Linked DNA regions of Homo sapiens: regions 1 and 2 are each linked to region 3. Evidence: promoter capture Hi-C in 16 types of primary human blood cells and fetal thymus (Javierre and others, 2016). All regions are on one chromosome and are shown on one strand. The core of a region is centred on a gene start or on the middle of the fragment in contact, and the rest is flanking DNA. Distances in the headings are between cores, read along the strand shown.

Region 1 (5,027 bases), core at 2,235-4,734, 260 kb before region 3:
TGAGTTTAATACAGTACCAGGGTTCAGACATTTCCATGAAATATTAACTCTAAACAAACATAACAGCATTCTAGCAGTAGTCTTCAGCTAACATGCTAATGGGATTAAGTTGCTAGAACCCTCTGTTAGTATGTGGACACAAGACAGATTGGCATACCTGGTTTAGGCATCACTCCAAACAAAGTTTGTAATCCAGGATTACTAGATTCCTAAACCCTATTTATGCAAGGACAGGGGTGTCTTTAAATAGCACTAGCCAAATCACATATCTCCAACACTCCTTAATTTTCCAGTGCAAAATAACTTCTTTTATTTATTAGGCTAATTAGGGAACCTTCTAGAACTCTCTAGAGATAAAGATCATTAAGGCCTTATAGTAGTCCTTCAAACACTACCAACCACTCCTAAAAGATGTGTGTCCAGTTAAAGTATTTTAAATTTTAGCTACAACCTTATAGAGGATTAAGAATACACACACACACACGCACACACACACACACACCTGTCTATACTAGAATATTTAAAAGTAAGTTATAGACAATATAATAGCTAGATAAAACAAAAGAATAAGGTATATGGGTTTTATAAAGACACACAGTATAATGATGGTGTCTCTGGACTCTTCCATAAAACAAAGGCATATTTTTTAAACTTTAGTTTGGTTCTTAATTACACAGAAAATCACAGCTTAGTCCATAATTAAATCCAAAGAAAGTGAGGCCCAGATAAATGGCATGACTTGCTGTAGGTTGTCCTGATAATTAACGGCAGCGTCAAAGCTGACACAAATCTTTAATCTTTTCCATGCTGCTGTGGGGCCCACAGGTAATAGATGTCCACAAATAAAAAAAGGTTTTCTAAATATAAAAATCATCCATAATTCTTTGTAGAAACTGTGAAAAAGAAAATACAAATGTAAATAATAAAATGTTAGTAATAATTCTAGCAGCACTCAGATACAGCCACCATTGGTGTATTTTTCTAGATACTGAGGTCACCTTGTAATTTTGGTTTACAAAATTTACATACTTCATGCGTGGTTTTGTGAACTGCTTTTATTTCATTTGGTTTTATATTGGAATCAATTCACCATGACATTTAATAGCCTTCAAAACAGGATTTTTGTAATGGCTGCGTGTTAGTCCATCATATTAACATTTATTTATACATTCCTCTATTTTGGACGTAACAGATACTATTTCGGAAGATTTGTTTTTTATAATCTCTCTAAGATGAATATTTTTCTCCTAGAATGTAAACACTATAAAGGCAGAGAGTTTGTCTTACTGATCACAATACCCTCAACCCCCCAGAAGTGCCTGACACATAGTTGGAGCTCAACAGGGATGGATGGATGGATGGATGGATGGATGGATGGATGGATGGATGGATGGATGGAAATGTATATTTGTATTTACCTCTGATAATTTCTCAAAAGTCTTCTTAGTTTGAGCACTAACATTGATTCTCTAGTTATGCTTGCTACACAGAATACAGGGCATCTATTTATCTGAAAATATTCATTATCCCATATTGTACTAGAGCCATATCCATTCTTTATCTGACACATCTGAAATTAGTTGTTATTTATCTGAAATTCAAATTTAATTTGATGTACCACATTTTAATTTGAGAAATCAGACAAACCTAGTTCTTAACATACCACCTTCACAAGACAGCCTGGCTAGAATACTCCACTGGTCTCTGAGCAAAAGCCTAATCCCCTTAAAGAGTCTAAGCCCATTAACCTATAGCAGCCAAACTGAGTGCTGTAAACAACCTCTATTTTTGAGCTCCTGATCTTCTCCATTAGTCAAGACAAATTAGAAAAACAATAAGAAAGAGAACAACCCATCATGACAATGGAAGAACCAGGCCATGATCTTTCCAAGCACAAACTGCAGCATTTTAGCATCTTCCCAGCACTGCTTCCCTGTCTATCCCTACCTGTCCTCCCCTGCCTCTGACATTAGTCATCATGATGCCTTCCTGCTTCTCCAAGGGACTCAGGATCTGATCCTTGCCTCCCCATCCAACCACCTGCCTGCCTGCCTGTCTCCCTCTCTGCACTCCAGCCAGCTTGCATGTCTCTTCGTTCCTCCCCTGCACCAGGCTCCTTCTTGCCACAGGATCTTTGCACATGCTCTGGCTTCTGCTTGGAAAGCCTTCTCTGTCTCCTCCTCCCTCCTCCCATTCCTTGGTTAACTCTTAGTCATCCATCATCACAGCTGCAAAGTCACTTCCCTAGGGAAGCTGTCCCTTTTTGCAGGCTGGTCAGCTTCCTCGGATCTAAGCTGTTAAAAGTTCTGTGTATTTTCCCTTCTCTACACTTACCATAGTTGACATTTTATTTTTGCTCTGGGATTATTTGGTTAATGTGCTAGAATCAAAACTCCAGAAGGGCCAGAACACTATGGCTTTTTTTGTTATCACTATGTTCCCAGCACTCAGCAAAAGAAAAATAAAAAACCAGACCCTCATTGTCACCTAATGGTGGTACTGTAATTCTCTCATTCCTTCCAAATGTATCAGCTGAATTTTTCAATAAAGAAGACATTTCCCTTATCAGCTCTTCCGTAACTGTGAGGTACAGTTTATACAAGAAAAGCAGAATAAATGCTTGAATTTTCCCCTTCTATTTACCAGTTTTCAGAATAATCAGAGGTGACAGACTCCTCCAAAGGTAACAAATGAGTTTGGTTTTACCGTTTTGAGTATTATGAATTCATGGATGTATACATGTTGATGTGTTTCAGTCCACTAAAGTCATTATTCTTTGGGATGCTCAAATTGTCTCATTGTTGGCCAGTAGAAGCCTGGGCCCTTTTGCCATGACCTCAGTTGTCTTTAATAGCTGTCCGGCTTGTATGACAAGACATTCTTGGATCCCCTTGTACAGCTCCTGACACCAATCTGGTTCAGCTATTTCTTCAAGAAGGCCTGGTTCCTTGTACATTCTTATTCACCTGTGGTTTCAATTCCCTAGTCTCTAAAAGAAACACTACAAATAGAAATTCTGTTCTGATTTTTCTCCTGTACAGCGGACCTGTATACCTAACAGATGACTGGGCATTGCCATCTCTGCCCACAACACACATCCTGAATTTGACTTGTTTGCACATGAAGTCATCATCCCTCCCCAAGATGGGCTCTCTATTATGCCTTCCTTGGGGATCAGTACTTGGAGTCGGGTCAGGGCAAGATACTGTTAGTGACATGTGGAATTCAGCCACACCATCATGAGAAGGTCCTCTCTGTGTGTTCTGGCTAAACCAGCCTTCTACCAGGTTAGCACGATTCTGGGCTTTGCAACATTCATGACCTGTTTGAGGGCACTGAAGGAGATGCTCAGCCACATCCCTTAATTTGCATGAGCCTGTAGGAAAAATATGTTTAAGAAGTCTGGCTGTCTGAGCAGGCCAAAGGAGAAGATGGAAGAGAAGGTGGTTTCCTGAAAGCATGAAGCTGTATCTGTTCATATTTTGACACCATCCCAGGAAGAAGAGGCTGAGGTAGGAAAGTACAGTCAGCTCTGGGAGTTCCCTCTGGAGAAGCTGGCTATGAGACGTGGAAGAAGCTCCCCAGCTGCAGTAGAAGGCACGAGAAGGTTTCAGGCTTTCCAGGTGGGCGTAGAATGGGCAGCAGCACAGGCATAACCTGGAGTGGCACAGGTGCCAGGGAAGAGGGCAGACGCCATGCGTGACATAGCAAGGGGATCACACCGCATCCATTGTGCATGAGACCACTTTTCACCACCCAGGCGACTCAAGGAGATAACTGGATGGGTGGTTCCAGGAAAAGAATGGACATCCTGCTAGGCCATCATATGCTGTCTCAGAGCACTGAGGTTTGATAAATGTGGTGAATTTGGAGGCACTCACAGCTGAGTCCCAGCACAGAGTGGGCACATAAGCAACACCATTTTCTCATTGCCCAAGCCAGCCCCTGCCCACAGCACCTCCACTTCCCAGAGCCACACCCAATCAATGGCCAACTTATGATTCTAATCTTGAATGTCTGTCGAGATCTTTTCCTTCTCCATCACTAAGCTCTCTCCTTTAAGTAAAAATTTTTCTCCTGGAGGAATGCCTCCTGGCTGATGCTTCTGCAAATCACCTCACTTCTCTTCAAGCCCTCCTCTGTTACAGACTATTCCAAATTTTTTTTTGTTTTTTTGTTTTTTTGTTTTTAACTTTTGCCTACCTTGTCGGCTCACGCCTGTAATCCCAGCACTTTGGGAAGCCGAGGTGGGTGGATCACCTGAGGTCAGGGGCTCTAGACCAGCCTGGCCAACATGGTGAAACCCTAGCTCTACTAAAAATTCAAAAATAAGCCGGGTGTGGTGGTGGGTGCCCGTAATCCCAGCTACTCAGGAGGCTGAGGCAGGAGAATCGCTTGAACCCAGGAGGCGGAGGTTGCAGTGAGCCAAGATCGAGCCACCGCACTCCAGCCTGGGTGACAGAGTGAAACTCCATCTTAAAAAAAAAAAAAAAAAATGCCTACCTAAATCTAACGTAAAACTTTGAGCTCACTCTGAAATATATTCATATTTACTTACAAGGGGAAAATGCCCTATGAACTGAAAATTATGTGTATTTTAGAACATACACAAAAGAGAAGTTAAAAGAAAATGAGAAAAATAAATAGATGTGATAATACTTTATTTCATTACTCCGATTAATAGTCTTACCAAACTCACCCGAAGACTGCCTGCAAAGTTCTTGAAGGAGCTTGGGATTGTAGGTGCTTTTGATGTTTTATTCAGACTGGACTAGATGCTTTAACCCTGAAGGTGCATCTTACGTATCTAAAAAAGACTTCCCTTAGGGCTAAACATAACAGAAAAGTGATGAATGAAGGAATCTGTCCAACATGTCATCTTTGATTGAAGATAAATACATTCATCTTATGGTTCTAGCTCTATTAAATTGAGTCTGTTTAATACACCCTGTCTGCAGCTAAACTAATTATTTCAGGCTGGATTTTCAATTTCTTACCTAGCCCTAGGATAAAACACAGAGTTGAAT
Region 2 (4,459 bases), core at 1,535-4,034, 290 kb before region 3:
ATTTAACACTTGTCCAGCATCTACTTGGGTAACATGGCTTTCCTTGGGGTGCCCTCTCTGCTTTATGGTTTACAGGACAATCACAGTTATCCACCTCCAAAGAATTGTCCATCAAGTCAGTCCATGGAGAGACATGGTGATATGGTTTGGCTGTGTCCCCACCCAAATCTCATCTTGAATTCCCACGTGTTGTGGGAGGGACCTGGTGGGAGGTAACTGAGTTATGGGGGCGGGTCTTTCCCGTGCTGTTCTTGTGATGGTGAATTAGTCTCATGAGATCTGATGGTTTTATAAAGAGGCATGTTCCTGCACAATCTCTCTCTGTTTGCCTGCCACCATCCATGTAAGATGTGACTTGCTCCTCCTTGCCTTCTGCCACGATTGTGAGGCCTCTCCAGCCATGTGGAACTATAAGTCCATTAAACCTCTTTTTTTTCCCCAGTCTCAGATATGGCTTTATCAGTAGCATGAAAACAGACTAATGCAGTAAATTGGTACCAGTAGAGTGGGGCACTGCTGAAAAGATACACAAAAATGTGGAACTGGGTAACAGGCAGAGGTTGGAACAGTTTGGAGGACTCAGAGGAAGACAGAAAAATGTGGGACAGTTTGGAACTTCCTAGAGACTTGCTGAATGGCTTTTACCAAAATGCTGATAATGATATGGACAGTGAAATCCAGGCTGAGGTGGTCTCAGATGGAGATGAGGAACTTGTTGGGAATTGGAACAAAGGTAACTCTTGTTACGTTTTAGCAAAGAGACTGACAGCATTTTGCCCCAGCCCTAGAGATTTGTGGAACTTTGAACTTGAGAGAGATGATTTAGGGTATCTGGTGGAAGATTTCTATTTCTAGGCAGCAAAGCATTCAAGAGGTGACTTGGATGCTGTTAAAGGCATTCAATTTTAAAAGGGAAACAGATCATTAAAGTTTGTAAAATTTTCAGGCTGACAATGTGATAGAAACAAAAATCCCATTCTCTGAGGAGAAATTAAAGCTGGCTGCAGAAATTTGCATTAGTAATGAAGATCTGAATGTTAATCACCAGGACAATGGGGAAAATGTCTCCAGGGCATGTCAGAGACCTTTGCGGCAGCCCCTCCCATCACAGGCCTGGAGGTTTAGGAGGAAAAAATGGTTTCGTGGGCTAGGCCCAGGGTCTCTCTGCTGTGCGCAGTCTAGGAACTTGGTGCCCTGAGTCCCAGCCACTCCACCCATAACTAAAAGGGGCCAAGGTACAGCTCAGGCTGTTGTTTCAGAGGGTGGAAGCCCCAAGCCTTGGCAGCTTCCACGTGGTGTTGAGCCTGCAGGTGCACAGAAGTCAAGAATTAAGTCGACTCTACCTAGATTTCAGAGGATGTATGGAAATGCCTGGATGCCCAAGCAGAAGTTTGCTGCAGGGGTGGGGCCCTCATTGAAAACCTCTGCTAGGGCAGTGCAGAAGGGAAATGTGGGGTCAGAGTCTCCACACAGAGTCCCTACTGGGGCACTGCCTAGTGGAGCTGTGAGAAGGCCACTGTCCTCCAGACCCCAGAATGGTAGATCCACCAACAGCTTGCACCATGTGCCTTGAAAAGCCACAGACACTCAACACCAGCACATGAAAGCAGCCAGGAGGGAGGCTGTACTCTGCAAAGCTATGGAGATGGAGCTGCCTAAGACCATGGAAGCCCACCTTTTGCATCAACATGACCTGGATGTGAGACATGGAGTCAAAGGAGATCATTTTAGAGTTTTAAGAATTGACTACCCCGCTGGGTTTCAGACTTGCATGGGGCCTGTAGCCCCTTTGTTTAGGCCAATTTCTCCCATTTTGAATGGCTGTATTTACCCAATGCCTGTACCTCCTTTGTATCTAGGAAGTTACTAACTTGCTTTTGATTTTACAGGCTCATATGCAGAAGGACTTGCCTTGTCTCAGATGAAATTTTCAACTGTGGACTTTTGAGTTAATGCTGACATGAGTTAAGGCTTTGGGGGACTGCTGGGAAGGCAAGATTGGTTTTGAAATGTGAGGACATGAAATTTGCAGGGGGCCAGTGGCAGAATGATATGGTTTGGCTGTGTCCCCACCCAAATCTCATCTTGAATTCTCACATGTTGTGAGAGGGGCCTGGTGGGAGATAATTGAGTCACAGGGGCAGATCTTTCTTGTGCTGTTCTCATGATAGTGAATAAGTCTCATGAGATCTGATAGTTTTATAAAGAGGAGTTTCCCTGCACAAGCTCTCTCTCTTTGCCTGCTGCCATCCTTGTAAGATGTGACTTGCTCCTCCTTGCCTTCTGCCATGATTGTGAGGACTCCCCAGCCATGTGGAACTATAAGTCCATTGAACCTTTTTCTTCCCAGTCACAGGTACGTCTTTATAAGCAGCATGAAAATGGACTAATACACATGGTAACCACCCACTCATTCAAATAATAAATACCTGGGGAAGAAATATACATTGAGTGTTTGCTGTATGCCAGACTGGAACATGCACTAGTCAACAAAGATGAATAAGACAGGCCCACTGTCTCTCTCTCCTAAATACTTGTAGTCTATGTGAACAATGAACCACAGTGAGGCCAGGTCTATAAAGTCCAGTGATGTGCTAGAGCCAGCTTGTACCAACTCTTTTTTTTCCCCAGGATGGAATGCAGTTGTGCAATCATGGCTTACTCTCAGGCTCAAGTGATTCTCCCACCTCAGCCTCCCAAGTAGCTGGAAATACAGGTGTGTAGCACCATGCCTGGCCTGAATCAACTCTTGAGAACTGACATTACATATCTCTTCCCAGCTGCAAGTTCAGAAATCTCAAGTTGGTAGCTTGAAAGCAGCCATGGTGGGAGTATTTATACTACAGAAATTGGCAAACACCACAAATCAGGATTTTGGTGGTGTTGGTTTGGGTTGGGTTTTGTTGGCTTTTTCTTCATTTCTTTTTTGAGATGGTGGTTTTTTACCAGCACACATCTGTCTGTAACATTAGAGTGATTGAATTGCTGTAGCAGAGAGCACATTTTTCTGCTTTTAGGTGGTGGGATAAGGCTTTACATAAGAGATGGCATCTTGGTGGCACATTTCAAGTTGAGTAGCCTTCTACCAGGCAGCAAAAGAGGAACAAAAAAAAACCCAGAAAGAATAACATAAGTAAAGCCATAGAAGTTTCAAATTAAAAAAATAAAATAAAAAAAAATTTAAAAAAACCTCTATGGATTCAGAGGAGGAAAGCACTACAGTTGCTGAGCTGCCTGGGGAAGCCCAATTGGTATCTAAAGACTAGCAAGGTGATATGGTTTGGCTCTTTGTTCCACCCAAATCTTATCTCGAATTTTAATCCCCTGGTATTGAGGGAGAGACATGGTAGGAGGAGATTGGATCATGGGGATGGTTTCCCCCATGCTGTTCTAGTAATAGTGAGTCAGTTTTCATAAGAGCTGATAGTTTAAAAGTGGCAGTTCCCCCTTCACTCTCTCTCTCTCTCCCGCCACCATGTAAGACATGCCTTGCTTCCCCTTCACCTTCGGCCGTGATTGTAAGTTTCCTAAGGCCTCCCTAGCTATATAGAACTGTGAGTCAATTAAACCTCTTTTGTTTATAAATTACCAAGTCTCAGGTAGTATCTTTATGGCAGTGTGAGAATGGACTAATACCCGAGGTCTTCAGTAGATGGATGGGGGCAGCAGTGGGAGAGGAGCTGCGAGAGGGGGAGCAAGCTGGCTATCAGCATGAGCAGAACAAACTAGGCTGCTTAACTCAGTGGGGCAGAGGAGACTGTCAGCATCCTTTCTCTGACCCCTTTGATAGTTCTCCCATCATCTTCCAGATGAAAGGAAAACTCCTTAGCCTGGCAGGCAAAGCCCTGCAGTTTCCGCACACATCTCCCACCAGCCCCAGCACGGGGCCTACCCTCCTGGGCCATTCATTGTCCTCCTGACCCAGGCTTTTACTTTCTCACTCAGGTTTTCTCTGCCTACTGTAATTCCCTTCTTCCATCCTCCACCTTCTCCTGGAGAACTCCTACACAGCCTCTAAACCTCTTCTAACGTGACTCTTCAAATACTGCATGTTTTCATTCATAAGTGAGAGCTATAAAGGAGATCTCATGAAGATACAAAGTAGATTGGTGGTTACCCAGCTAAGGAAGGGTAGGGGGAAAAGCGGGTGAAGAAAAGATGATTAATGGGTACAAATATACAGTTTGTTAAGAGAAACGAGACCTAGTGTTAGATAGGTCGGTAGGGTGACACAGTTTACAATAATCTGTTGTGTGTTTCAAAATAGAAGAGAAGAATTCAAATGTTTCTAACATAAAAGACAAATATCTAAGGTGATGGATATCTCAAGTACACTGATTTGATCTTTACAAATTATATGAATGTATTAAATTGTCACATGTACCCCAAAACTACATACATCTATTATGCATCAATTAAAAAAAAAACATTTGGCCAGGTGCAGTGACTCATGCCTCTA
Region 3 (4,482 bases), core at 1,565-4,064:
GGTTTCCTCAAGCATACTCAGATCACAGCAACCTTGGCAAGTTATGCTGCCTATTGTTTCACACAGCGGTTTCTTCCTGCAGTGTAAGCCCCCTAAAGGCAGGGGTGTTTCTTATGTTCAGCTTTGTATCTCTAGCTCAGCACCATGCTTGAACATTGTTAAGTGGCTCTATTAATATTTTTTAAATGTGTTAGTGAATGGATGAAAAATGTTAGTGCACCTATTTAAATCACATTATTATGAAACAGTGAGATCTGCAGATCTGCTTTTTAAGCACATAACTTATGATAAGTAGGATAAAATTTAAATTGCAAACCATAATTAAGGAGAAAAAAACTACCACCACCACACAACCAATAACGAGTCAAGGTCTGAGTTCTGAGCACCTAAAGAGGCAGGCTTGTTAGCAAGAAATATTTCTATCACTAAACAGATATTCATGCATCATAAAACAAAGCATGCCTCTTTGAAGCCTAAAGAATATGGCAAGACCGGGCCCAGTGGCTCACGCCTGTAATCCCAGCACTTTGGGAGGCCGAGGCAGGAGGATCACTTGAGATCAGGAGTTCGAGACCAGCCTGGCCAACATGGTGAAACCCCGTCCCTACTGAAAATACAAAAATTGGCCGAGCATGGTTGCGAGCGCCTGTAATTCCAGCTACTCAGGAGGTTGAGGCCAGAGAACCATTTGAACCTGGGAAGTGGAGGTTGCAGTGAGCCGACTTACACCGCTGCACTCCAGCCTGGACTATAGAGTGAGACTCTGTCTCAGGAGAAAAAAATATATGTATATAAATATATATATAAAAATATATAAATATATATAAATATATAAATATTTATATATTTATATACATATATATGGCAAATATACCCAGAAAGGAACAGGAGGGGTGGTGCACTTTGGTGTCCGCAAAAAATACAGCTTAAAAAGCATCTACCTCAAGTATAAGATCTACCATGACTTTCTAAAGAATTAAAAAAAAATTTTTCCCATACCTCCATCTGACGCCCTTGTCAGTTTAATCTTTCCATTCAATCCCACCCTCTGGCTGTTACCAAAATGCCATAGGCTAGTATTGCAAACACAGTCCACTACAGTCACCTGTAATTTAGGCGAATAACAGAACTTCCTTCACTATTGACTATTATGAAAGGTTTGAGAGATGACTAGCCTGGGATCATCTGTTCCCTGCTGGGAGGAGGTCTGAAAAATTCATAGGCAGGGGAGAATGGGAAGGTAAGTTAAAACAAACCAGGTAAAAAGAAATCCACTTTAAATAAAGCTGCATTTGGAAGTGTACAACAATTCTCTCAAGAGCCTCCAGAAAGGCTGCCTTTGGTTCCGCAGAGCTCCACAACCGCACAACCTGCTCTGTTATAAACTGGACAGCACGCAGCACCTTGCTTAACTAACTCTAAAAATAAAGCCCTCTCGTTTAGCTCACTAAACTGTTACCCCATATTCCCTAAAAGCTGTCATTACGATCAAAATGTCTGCAGCCTTTACAACTAAAAATGTGGAAACTTGTGTTGCATCCTTTTAAAAACTCCATCTGCTGCGGGGAGCCAGTGCACATCTACCCATCTATTTGAGTATATGCGAATCTTGCCCTTATCTAGAATATCCTATTTCCCATCCATATGCCTGGCTCTAGCAAAATAAGGACCCTCAATGGCGCTTCTTTACTGCTTCTCAAGAAACCTCCATGTTCTGACCTGACTACTCCTGGAAACACAGCAGCCCCTCCTCAAACCTTTCTTTCTGCCTAACCTGCAGCTTCCAGAACGCACTACGGGGCTTCGCTTCTGCTACTTTCGCACTTACTTCCTCCGCCGGCAGCCTTTTTCCCACCTCTCACATCTAACAACGTACCTTCAAGACTCAACATAAGCATGACCTCCTCTCTCAAGAGAGGTCCTTCCAGACCCCACTTGCGTTTCTCAAATCAACCCGGGCCTGGGTTTTCACGCCTGCTTTCCCAGAAACCAAACTCCTGCAAGCAGGGGCAGAACCTCATTCCACCTGCATTCTCCGATCATTACACATTCTCGGGGCAAGAGGCGAAGCTCAAAGACTGCCTGGGGTCGGACGTGAGCGCTGAAACACCGCTCAAACTGCACGAGCCGAGGCGACGCCGGGGTTAGGGCTGCATTCCTGTCCCGGGCAGCTCCGGAGTCTGAGAAACGCCAACGTCTGCACTCCCAGTTCTGAGACCCCGGGAGGAACCGGCTCCGAGCCCCAGAGAGGGGCAACCGTGCAGGGCCAGGGGGGACACGCTACGGGCTACTCGGTTCTGGTGACCAGACAATTTCGTCAGGATGCGGTGCACGAGACGGAGAAGAAACGCTCTTCAGCACCAAACAGCCCGAGGCAGACATGAGGAGGAGGAGGAGGAAGGGAAGAGGGAGAAGGTCAGGGCCAGGGTCACCAGAGGCGGCGGCGGGCGGAGGGTACCGGGCCGCAGCCGCGTGGAGAGACCAGCGCCCGCCGCGGGGACTGAGACCCTCGGAGGCTCCGGCTGCGCTGGCCCGGCCTCCGCCCCTCGCGACGGGCCTAAAGCCGCGGGCTTGCGTCTAGCGCCTCCCGGGAAGGCGCGCCCGCCTCAGGTCCCGCCAGGCCACCCACCCGGGGCCGCCGGGGCGCCACTTACCCGGCCCGCCCGGCCGACTCTGCCCATGAGCCGCGCCGGCGGCAGAGCGGAGCCGGGCGGCACTCCGCGGAAACCCGCCAGCGGCAGGAGGCCTCGGCGGCGCCCACCCTTCGCTGAGTCCTCAGGGCGCTCGGCGGCGCGGGGTCAGGGAGCGCGGGCTGCCGGGAGAGCGCGCCCGCGCCTGCGCCCCGCCTGCGCCTGCGCCTGCTTCGGCCTCTGCGCCTGCGCCGAGGGCGCCTTGCCGCACTGCCCCCTGCCCGCGGGAGGACCGCACTGCACGCTCCCCTCCGCCGGCGTCTTCTTACCATCAAGAGGTGTCGCCCTGGCGCACATTTTCGAAATTCCACAAGGCTTGGGGAGCGCGGCAGCGCCCCCAGATGGTGAGGAGGAGAAGTGGTCCGAGGCCGGGCTTTCTGATAGGGGAGGTGGGGGAAGTCCCTCCAGGCCCCTCGATCTCATTCATTCAAAGCCACTCCTATATAAGCAAAAAGTTGAAAATAAGTCTGCATAGGCCAGATGCTGCAAAAGGATGGCAAGGAGCACGAGGTTAAGCGTAAGATTATGGAAACAGATGCCGCGATTAGGGGTACAGAAAAGAATGTCAATGCTATAAAGCCTCGGTCTTTAAAAACGACGTCGCTGACAGAAGCAGGGAGGGAAAGGGAAAGTGGGACTTCGGGTAAATATGATTTTTACATCTGTAATTAATTGGGTGTCAAATAGAGTTCAAGCCGATAAATCAAATAGTAGAGATTTAAGCAGACGTCTTAGTCCGAAGGAGTATACCAAGAAAGTTACTATAATCCATTAAAATCCAGTCATTAAGAAAACGGGAAAAGGGGGAAAAAAGAAATACAGTGGAGAGACAAAAGACAATCTAAAGAAATAGAGGATTAAGGACGTCATGGGATGGTATGATTCTGAGGGTAACCCAGAACAAAACTACAAAGCTTTCAAATAATCCACACATACATGCACCCACACATACATGCATGCACACACACACACACACACACAAAACCACAGCAAAAAAAATATATATATAGGGAAATATTTTAAAAAGTTACAAAACAGAAAGCGTAACCAAACTATATGACAGAACAAGACCAAATGTCTCACAAGAAGAAATATAGACCTAAGCTTACCTACTAAAAAACTACAATCTCAGATAGGAGCACAAACCATCATGCAACTCAGTGTTGTATACAAGAAAGTGCTAACGTTATTCTGAGTTTGAAAATACAAGATTGGAAAAGATATACCAGGAATATGCAAAAAAATTAAAAAAATCAGGAATCACAAACCGCTTACTACAAAGTTGATTTCAGGGCAAAAAGCATTAAGTAAGATTAAGAAGGACATTTTATAATCTTGAGGAGCACAATTCACAATCAAGAAAAAAATAGGAAAAATAGGAAAATCTTTGCACCAAATCACATAATCTCATTATTCATAGCAAACACTGTAGGAGTGAGTGAATAGACAGAAATAATTGGCACACTCCTTGCCAGACGAAGAGTACAAAAAGTAAATGGGGATTGAGAAGACCTAAAAATACAATTCCTATGATAGATCTAATATATCAAACACTGTCCCCTAAATAGACATTACATCTTTTCCAGTGTCTAAGGAATATTCACAACAATTAGTCATATTTTAAACCACAGAGAAAAATCTTAACATAGTCCAATAAGTAGAATCATATCGGTAATATTATCTGCAGCAATTCAATAAAAGTAGAAATTAATGAAAAAACAGAAAATAAAACATGCCTACCCCTTGAAAATTTTTAAATGCTTAAATAACACTTGGACTAAAAAGGAAAACA

What was found. Contacts are between HindIII fragments. The CHiCAGO score rates a contact against its expected background, and 5 or more counts as called.
Region 1: the fragment with the promoter of LINC02656 here is called in contact with the fragment with the promoter of RBM17 in region 3 in 1 of 17 cell types (neutrophils); the score reaches 5.6 in neutrophils.
Region 2: a fragment that was not itself captured here is called in contact with the fragment with the promoter of RBM17 in region 3 in 1 of 17 cell types (activated CD4 T cells); the score reaches 6.9 in activated CD4 T cells.

What each region holds. Positions count from the first base shown.
Region 1 is chr10:6,348,773-6,353,799 of GRCh38, reverse strand. It overlaps LINC02656 (long intergenic non-protein coding RNA 2656), which reads right to left and starts at 3,484. Exons shown (of 1, transcript NR_148966.1): 1 at 1-3,484. The HindIII fragment of the contact is 13,073 bases long and covers 1-5,027 here.
Region 2 is chr10:6,377,374-6,381,832 of GRCh38, reverse strand. No RefSeq gene overlaps it. Among named protein-coding and RNA genes, the nearest start is that of LINC02656, 29 kb to the right of the region's middle. The HindIII fragment of the contact is 6,566 bases long and covers 1-4,459 here.
Region 3 is chr10:6,087,366-6,091,847 of GRCh38, reverse strand. It overlaps RBM17 (RNA binding motif protein 17), which reads right to left and starts at 2,814. Exons shown (of 12, transcript NM_032905.5): 1 at 2,655-2,814. RefSeq lists silencers at 2,083-2,142, 2,413-2,502, 2,513-2,952 and enhancers at 1,318-2,156, 3,113-3,162. The HindIII fragment of the contact is 5,297 bases long and covers 1-3,606 here.